Regions from separate parts of the Homo sapiens genome. Here all the other regions are linked to region 2. Evidence: promoter capture Hi-C in 16 types of primary human blood cells and fetal thymus (Javierre and others, 2016). All regions are on one chromosome and are shown on one strand. Each heading gives the region's core, a stretch centred on a gene start or on the middle of the fragment in contact. The rest is flanking DNA. Distances are from core to core; before and after follow the strand shown.

Region 1 (3,025 bases), core at 478-2,977, 450 kb after region 2:
TGACTGCCTGAAGGAGGCTGCTGTTGGGCTTCTGCTGTGACTTCTTTGTCTTTGGGGCTCTTAGCAACACAACCAGAGCTAGCGCTACTGAAGGGGTGGAGACAGTCTAGCTCTAGCACTCTGCCCTGTCTCCCAGGGCCTGGGCTTACACCTGCCCAGCTAAACACCTCTAATGAGATCCCTGGAGAAGGTGGGGGTGCATGCCTCAGAGGGAAGCCTGAGTCTTGTCTCTGTTTTCCTCCTCCCCTCTTTCCACAGCAACTGAGCTACATAGGTGTCCTCTGGGTCAGAAGACCTCAGTTTTAGTGTAGGATCAAACACTCTGTTTTATCTTTGCAAATTCTATTTGGGCCTCACTATTTATTTATTTAACAACTATTACTGAATGGCTTATCTATGTCAGGTGCTAAACTATTCTCCAGGGACAAAGAGATGCCTCTCACATGAGAAGTGAGCTCTATTTTTGTAACCTACTTCCTACCCTTATCTACCTCCACATACGCCTTCCCCCATCACACCATTCTCATAGGTAGTGTGATAGGGGCCATCCTATGGTGCTTTTGTCCTCATATCCTTCTTGTGACTTCTAGTGCCTGATCCTACCAACCATTCCATGTGTTTTATGGTCCCCAATCTTTCAACTTTTCTCTTTTTGTGAACCTGCTTCAATATCTCCTATATCAAAACAAACAAAAACCCTACAATTTCTCCCTCAACCTGATGTTCCTTTCACTGCTATCATCTTTCTCAGTCAACAAATCAAAATCAGAACACCCATAGGCAGGTGTTCTGTGTGCCAGGCCAATATTGTGCTAAATACTAGGAATTGGAGATGAATAAGACACGCTCCCCCTTCTCCAGAAGCTCACAGTCTGCTAGGTGAAATAGTCAGGCCAGCAGGTAATTACACATGAGGTAACTAAACAGCAGCAGTCATTGCCAGGCTGCTGATGAGTACTCTGTTAGCTGGATACACGGAAGGCTATTATAGTACACATGAAGTGGCCCTACAGAGCCTGGGTTCTGCAGGATGAATAGGAGTTGGGTACAGAGATGGGAGGGTGAAGAGCACTAGAGGCAGAATGCACAGAGTGGGCAAAGGCATAGAGATATCAAAAAGCGTGGGTGACTGGGCAAATATCAATTGGCTTATTTTAGAGGGCCTAGCGGGTAGTGGTGAGAGATGAGGTTGAATGATAGACAGAGGCCAGCTCAGGAGGAGTTCTGTCAGCCATGTTATAAAGCTTGGATTTTACCCAACGGCAATAGAGAACCTGTGAAGAGTTTTTCACAGTTCAGTGATAAAATCAGGTTTGTGTTTTTGGAGTGTGTTTTAGAAGAAAAACCTGTGGTCCCTAATTAAATTTTGAAAAACTCTCTTTTCCCATGGCTTCTTAATTTCTTTTTGCAAAGTATTACGCTTGTTAAAATAAAAAGACAACATTCAAAGTAATGCAACAAAATGAATAAAATCCTTTGTAATGCCATAATGTCTTGGTTTGCTGTTTCTTTTTAGTGTCTTTCATAAGCTCCTCTGTCTATTCCTTCTATGATGGTGTTTTTTTTTTTTCTTGGATTCTGTTCTAGGCTTTCTACTTTTGCCATCCTCCTAACTCTGTCTGATTGACGTCAGTCACCCACAGGACTTCCTTTCTCATATAGTGGCTCCCGAGAACTCTCCCTGAGTTTCAGTTATCTATATGACTAACTGCTCACTGGATGTTCCTACTTGGGTATCCCGCGGTCACCTTCAACCCATTGGGTCTATAACTAAGCTCATTATCTTCCTCCACTTTTTCTTCTAGAATTCCTATCTATGCCCTTTCAGCAAAAAAACCTATGACAAGCATTTATTACTATTTACTGTATAATGTTGTGGCAGTTAAAAAAAATGGTCACAAATTCTTCGACACCACTCCCTTGTGATAGTTTGTATAGCAGGAGTGATGTTGTGTGACTTCTAAGGCTAGATCATAAAAGGCCATGCAGCTTCCCTCTGGTTCTCTTGGAATGCGTGTTGTCTGGTAGCTCCCTCTCAGAATGTTCCCTCTTGGAACCTACCCATCACATTGTGAGAAGTTCTGTTTGACAGTTTGCCCAATGAGTTCAGCTTTTTCATTATCCCAGCCCAGGAATTAGATGTGTGACTGAAGAAGCCTCCAGATGCTTCCAGCCACCAGCCTCAAACCACCTCTAGATGTTCAAGCTTTACAAATAAGGCCCCAGACATCATGGAATAGAGACAAGCCATTCCTGTTGCATCTCGTCCAAATTCCCAGAATTTGTGCACATAATAAAATGGCTATTGTTTTTATGACACTAAGTTTGGGTTGGTTTGTCACATAGCATAGTAACCAGAACAAACAAACACAGAGAAAGGTGTACAATCCTTAAGTATATAGCTTAATACATTTTCACAAAGTGAACACACCCATATAACCAAGCACTCAGATCAAGAAACAGAACATCACCAGTGCCTCAGGAGCCCCACTCTGCCCCTTTCAGTCAATGTTTTTCCAAGAATAATCACTATCCTGAATTCTAATATCACAGTTTAGTTTTACCTGTTTTTGAATTTATATAAACTAAGCATTAGTTTTTAATTCTTCCTCTTATTTTCCTCTTATATCCACCCAATCATCAAACCATGGTGATCTACCTTCTAAAAATCCACATGTCCACTTCTCTGCATTTTTGCTACTCTAGTTTGGGCCTTATCAGCTTGTTTGGTCTTTTGCAAAGTTACTGTATAACTATCAATCTATGTATAAAATTCTTTATAGCTATCATCCCAAAAATAAAATCTAAATTCCTTAACATGGTTTATAAAGTTCTCCAGTCCATGTCTTCAGCCTCATCTCACAATGTTTCCTCACATGTTCCCTAGGCTCCCGACACACTGTACTGATTGCAGTTCTTACAGCACCTCCCACATGCTGTCCATTCTTCCTTTCCCTGGTATATGCTGATCCTTTGGTCTGAAACTTCTATTTCTTTTTAAATACTTTTTATTTGAACTAATTTT
Region 2 (3,147 bases), core at 648-3,147:
AATATATATATATCCTGGTGAAAACATCTTAGTGAAATTTTTCAACTGCAAAGACAATTGAAAACTACAAGAATTGCTCCCAAAGAAACAAAACATGAATGGTAATTGTAATTTCTGTAATTTATTGTAAATTTCTTTAATTGTGAAGTGTGATTTGTATAAATCTGTCAATGTATTTATATGTTCATGACTTTTCCTATTTGCATATTTGTTCCTTCATATTAAAGAAACTTTTCAAAATTAAAATTAGCAAAGAAGTGTTCTTTGGTCACCTATAAGCTGACAAAGTGACAAATCTATACGTCTACTGAATATGTACATGTAAAGAGGAGTGAATTCATTTCCTAAGACTGCTGTAACAAACTATCACAAACTGTGGAACTTAAAACAACAGAAATTTATTGTTTTGTGGCTCTGGAGGCTAGAAGTAAGAAAGCGATGTGTTAGCAGCAGGGTCATGCTCTCTGACAGATCTGAAAAAGAATGCGTTTTATACCTTTCCCTTGGCTTCAGGTGTGCTCCAGCAATCCTTGGTGTTCATTCATTGATTTGCAACTGCTTGACTCCATAATCTCTGCTTTCAAGGTCACATGGCTTTCTGCCTGTATGTCTCTGTCTTTACCTGGTCAGCATCACCCTGTGTCCATCTCTCTCTCTTCATGCGCATTTTTTTTTTTTTTTTTTTTGAGATAGAGCCTCACTCTGTCGCCCAGTCTAGAGTGCAGTGCCCGATCTCAGCTCACTGCAACCTCCACCTCCCGGGTTCAAGCTATTCTCCTGCCTCAGCCTCCCGAGTAGCTAGAATTACAGGCATGAGCCACCACGCCCGGCTAATTTTTGTGTTTTTAGTAGAGACGGGGTTTCGCCATGTTGGCCAGGCTGGTCTCGAATTCCTGACCTCAGGTGATCCGCCCGCCTCGGCCTCCCAAAGTGCTGGAATTACAGGAGTGAGCCACCGTGCCCGGCCTGCATATATGTATGTACGTATATATGTGTCTATCTATCTAGCTAGCTAGACACTAGGCATTTTGGATTAGGCGCCCACCTATGCCTGCATGACTTCATCTTAACAAATGACATCTGCAATGACCCTATTTCCACATAAGGTCACATTCTGAGTTACTGCAGGTTAGGACTTAACATAGCTTTTTGGGGACGGGAAGAATCATGGGGAAGACACAATTCAACCCATAACAAGGAATAATTTTGACAGTCATTGCCAATTTGCAGATGTTAAGGCTCAAAAACAAACTATAATATTATTGTTCATTAACACATAAATGTGTAGGTATGTTTTTTCCCCTTAAAAAGACACACTGGTGTAATTAAAAACAATCTACTACTTTTCCCTTTAGTGCTGTAATTTTTTTAACTGGAGTGATTACTTCAATAAAAGAAAAATTTCACTATCTGCGTTTCTTTTCCGGGCATCGTTATTATCCATCTCACCATTACTACTGAAAATCACTGTGTTAAAAACAATGCGTACAGGTGTCAACCAGGCCAGCTGGCCACTGCTGGACCCGGTAGGGCCGTCAGCCCGCAGGACCCCGAACCCTCCGGGTGCCTTTCTCTTCAGACGCTCTCTTTCCCAGGAGTCTCCGCGGCGGAGCGCCCCATCGCCCTAAATGCCACTGGCTGACGCAGCCCCAAAAAAAACCCGATGGCCCGCTTATCCCACACTAGGGGGCGCCTGGTTCTTCGGCCGCCACAGAGCGCTCTGGATGCCTGAAGCCCGCCCAGCTCGCCGCCTCTGGAAAAGCTCAACACCGTTTCTCCGCCCTTCCCGAGATTGCCAACGAGGCAGGCTCTGATGCGCATGCGCAAACACGTTCACCACGCTCCGAGCTAAGGCGCATGCGTTCCCTGAAATTGCCGCCACCGGCTCTACCTTCCAGTTTCCAGTTCCGGCCTCCAAGGGGCGGGCAGAAGTTGGAAACATGCGGCTGTCGGTCGCTGCAGCGATCTCCCATGGCCGCGTATTTCGCCGTATGGGCCTCGGTCCCGAGTCCCGCATCCATCTGTTGCGGAACTTGCTCACAGGGCTGGTGCGGCACGAACGCATCGAGGCACCATGGGCGCGTGTGGACGAAATGAGGGGCTACGCGGAGAAGGTGAGGAGCGCGGCCCTCTTGTCCACTCTGCGGGTCTGGTCTGAGGGGGCGGAGCCGGCTGCAAGTGGAAAGGGACCGGGACCAACCTGGTAAACCATTCCCCAAGTCTGAGTCCCCCAGAACCTTGGGCTGAACCCGCCCCTCCATCGCCTCTAATGGAAGACTGGTTAGGGCTGCGGAGTTAGGGGTGGCGTAGATTGGAGATGCTTGGCTAGTGGAAAGAATGGATTGCCTTCCGGCATTAGAGAAATTAGATTGGCACCTTGTTTTCTTGCTCGGTTGGATCCGTGATGTTATGTCCTCACAGCTCATCGACTATGGGAAGCTGGGAGACACTAACGAACGAGCCATGCGCATGGCTGACTTCTGGCTCACAGTGAGTGCGACCTATCTGCCTTCAAAATCCCACCCTTTGCTCCCTGGGGGTGGGGGTTGGAAAAAGGAGAACTATGCAGAATTAAACTTGGGTACTCACTTATGGGCCAGTGCTGCTAACTAAATTAGAAACTGTGTCTTAAGTTAGTTGAAGTCGATGTGAATATACCTCTGCACAACTGCCTATAAACGACCCCTTTGTGTAACACTGACTATGCCAGATTGGCGAGGGGAGGGGGAGGTCTTTCTATGTGTGGATGGACCTTACCTTTGGGAATGGTGTAAAGTTAAATGCCTCTGCAGTTTTGCCTGACTCTGCTGTCTCTTGGATAATTCTCCCTCTAGGAGAAGGATTTGATCCCAAAGCTGTTTCAAGTACTGGCCCCTCGGTACAAAGATCAAACTGGGGGCTACACAAGAATGCTGCAGATCCCAAATCGGAGTTTGGATCGGGCCAAGATGGCAGTGATCGAGTATAAAGGGAATTGCCTCCCACCCCTGCCTCTGCCTCGCAGAGACAGCCACCTTACACTCCTAAACCAGCTGCTGCAGGGTTTGCGGCAGGACCTCAGGCAAAGCCAGGAAGCAAGCAACCACAGCTCCCACACAGCTCAAACACCAGGGATTTAACTGGATCTGAAGAGTCTGCAGCCCTTAA
Region 3 (3,074 bases), core at 403-2,902, 260 kb after region 2:
TATGTCCTTCTTACCTGAAGAGATTTCCCTGAATACTGCAGCCTTCCTGCTCAATGAGATTGGGAAGACAAATATTTTGGTGGGCTATCTGTAAATGGGTGATACTTCTGGATTTTTTTTTTCATTTTCTCAAAAATAAATCTAGATGTCATTTTTTAAATCTACAATTCCATAGCTAATCAACCAACTGATCACTGATTTCTGGGAATTCTACCTCTTGAATATTTATTAAACCTATGCAATTTTCTCCATCCCTAGTCCCACCACCAGAGTCCAAGCCATCATCATCTTTAACCTGGTCTCTTGCTTCCTAACTGGTCTATATTCTTCCAATTTTGCTTTCCACCTATCTATTCTTCCTCAGGAGCTGAAAGCGATCTTCTAAAATGCGAGTGTGAACATGCCCCTCTCCTGCTTCAAACCCTTCCATGATTTTCCATTGCCCTTAAAATAAAGGTCAAACCCTTAGCTCAGCATATAAGGCCCTCCTTGATCTGGCACTTTCCCACCTTCCTATTTCATCTTATGCCATTCTCCACTATCACAACTGTTAGGCTGTTCTTGTGTTGCTGTAAGTAAATACTTGAGACTGGGTAATTTATAAAGAAAAGAGGTTTAGGGCCAGGTGTGGTGGCTTATGCCTGTTATCCCAGCACTTTGGGAGGCCAAGGCGGGCGGATCACGAGGTCAGGAGATTGAGACCATCCTGGCTAACACGGTGAAACCCCATCTCTACTAAAAACACAAAAAATTAGCTGGGCATGGCAGTGGGTGCCTGTAGTCCCAGCTACTTGGGAGGCTGAGGCAGGAGAATGGTGTGAACCCGGGAGGCGGAGATTGCAGTGAGCCGAGATTGCGCCACTGCACTCCAGCCTGGGGGACAGAGCGAGACTCTGTCTCAAAAAAAAAAAAAAAAAAAGAAAAGAAAAGAGGTTTAATCGGCTCACAGTTCTGCAGGCTATACAGGAAACATAGCACCAGCATCTGCTTGGCTTCCAGGGGGTCCTCAGGAAGCTTTTACTCATGGCAGAAAGCAAAGTGGGAGCAGGCATCCCACATGGCTGATCAGAAGCAAGAGAGTGTGGGGGGAGAGGTGCCATACACTATTTATTTATTTATTTATTTATTTGAGATGGAGTTTCACTCTGCTGCCCAGGCTGGAGTGCAGTGGCGTGATCTCGGTTCACTGCAGCCTCCGCCTCCTGGGTTCAAGTAATTCTCCTGCCTCAGCCTTCCAAGTAGCTGGGACTACAGGTGCCCGCCACCATGCCCAGCTAATTTTTTTGTGTTTTTAATAGAGATGGGATTTCACCATGTGGACCAGGCTGTTCTCGAACTCCTGGTCTCAAGTTGATCTGCCCACCTTGGCCTCCCAAAGTGCTGGGATTACAGGCCTGAGCCACCACGCCTGGCCATGCCACACACTTTTAAATAACCGGATCTCACAAGAACTCACTCATCATGGGGAAGACAGCACCAAGCCATGAGAGATCCACCCCTACGACCTGAACACCTCCCACCAGACCCCACCTCCAGCATTGGGGATTACAATTCAACATGAGATTTGATCAGGGACAAATATCCAAACTATATCAACACCCATACTGACCTTCCTGTATTTCTCCTGCTACTTGGAATACTTTTCTCTTCTCCTGGCTGACCTCTAGCTCCTTCATCCCTTTCCCTCACTGAATTGTCACTTCCTATGAAAGCCTCCTAAACTTCCCAGGCCAAATTAAGCCCACTCACATAGCTCCCGGTACATCTCCTTCAAGACACTCATCACATTCCTAATTACATATTTAATGTCTCTTTCCCCTGTTAAATTTCAAGCTGTATGAGAGACGGAACTGTATCTTGTTTCTTGACCTGTTGCTAGCACCAAGGACAGTACCTCATACATAGTAATTATTTGATGAAAGAAAATGAATGAATGAATGAATGAGGACACTTTTGTTCTTCTGGGTAATTCTTCTTCATCTTTCAAGAACCCAGGTCAGATGTCATTTCCTCCAGGTGAGATGCAGTCAAATCTGATTCGTCTTTAGATCCCTAGGGCCTGGCTTGGGACCTGATACATGGTTCATATATCATAGGCATTTGTCAAATCATTATAAACTATTGGTTGTGAATTCATAATTGTTGAAACTGAATGATAGGTATATGAGGGTTCATTATATTGTTCTGTCTGCTTTAGTATATATTGGAAATTTGCCATAATAAAAAGTTAAAACATTTATATTTACCACAAGTAAAATAAAAGTATATTCAAAGATGACTTTGAAGCTTCTGGCTTGGGAAGCCAGTAGTTGGTGTCATTCATTGGAATGGATGGAATGGAGTTGTGTCCAGTGTGGGATGTGTGTTGTGTTGTGTGTGTTGAAGAGGGTTCTTTTTCACCCCAGTGAAACTCCTTAAAAGACTAATAAAGGGGGATGAAACAATAAATTGAGGCTGGACACTGTGTCTGACGCCTGTAATCTCAGCACTTTGGGAGGCCGAGGTGGGAGGATCGCTTGAACACAGGAGTTCCAGACCAGCCTGGGGAACACAGTGAGACCCCCTCTCTACTAAAATACAAAAAGCCAGGCGCGGTGGCACATGTCTGTGGCCCAGGTACTCCGGGGGCTGAGGCGGGAGGAATCTGAGCCCTGGAGGCTGAGGCTTCAGAGAGCCATGATCTTGCCCCTGGGTGACAGAGTGAGACCCTGCCTTGAAAGAAAGAACGAACTCAGATTTGGATATCTTTAGTTTTAGGCACCTGAGAGGGATTAGCATGTAGAGGCTTTCTGGATGGTAATATAACCTCTCATTATCCTTGATGGCCTCTGGGTCACTGATCTGACCATTGGGATGTATCCCACTATCCAGGGAGGGTCTGTAGTAAGTATTGCACCCCACCATCTTCCTTACATCTTTACACTTTTCATTCACAATATCCCCTTCCTTGTGAATTTCTACCGGGGAGCAATGTATTCTTGACATTTTCCAGGCCTTGATGTCAGCTTTATGCTCAGCAGCAGAGGTATTTCAGTGTCAAGAAACATCGGAGTTCCAGTCTAAATTCATCACTA

Evidence for each region. Contacts are between HindIII fragments. The CHiCAGO score rates a contact against its expected background, and 5 or more counts as called.
Region 1: a contact is called between a fragment that was not itself captured here and the fragment with the promoter of MRPL17 in region 2, in 1 of 17 cell types (naive CD4 T cells). The highest score is 5.6, in naive CD4 T cells.
Region 3: a contact is called between a fragment that was not itself captured here and the fragment with the promoter of MRPL17 in region 2, in 2 of 17 cell types (non-activated CD4 T cells and naive CD8 T cells). The highest score is 7.4, in non-activated CD4 T cells.

Annotation. Positions count from the first base shown.
Region 1 is chr11:6,236,100-6,239,124 of GRCh38, reverse strand. It overlaps CNGA4 (cyclic nucleotide gated channel subunit alpha 4), which reads right to left and starts at 36. Exons shown (of 6, transcript NM_001037329.4): 1 at 1-36. The HindIII fragment of the contact is 962 bases long and covers 1,247-2,208 here.
Region 2 is chr11:6,682,090-6,685,236 of GRCh38, reverse strand. It overlaps MRPL17 (mitochondrial ribosomal protein L17), which reads left to right and starts at 1,897. Exons shown (of 3, transcript NM_022061.4): 1 at 1,897-2,114; 2 at 2,422-2,490; 3 at 2,835-3,147. The coding sequence starts at 1,941. The coding sequence ends at 3,119. RefSeq lists enhancers at 1,737-2,176, 1,593-2,355. The HindIII fragment of the contact is 17,410 bases long and covers 1-3,147 here.
Region 3 is chr11:6,419,713-6,422,786 of GRCh38, reverse strand. No RefSeq gene overlaps it. Among named protein-coding and RNA genes, the nearest start is that of APBB1, 2.2 kb to the right of the region's middle. The HindIII fragment of the contact is 1,272 bases long and covers 1,017-2,288 here.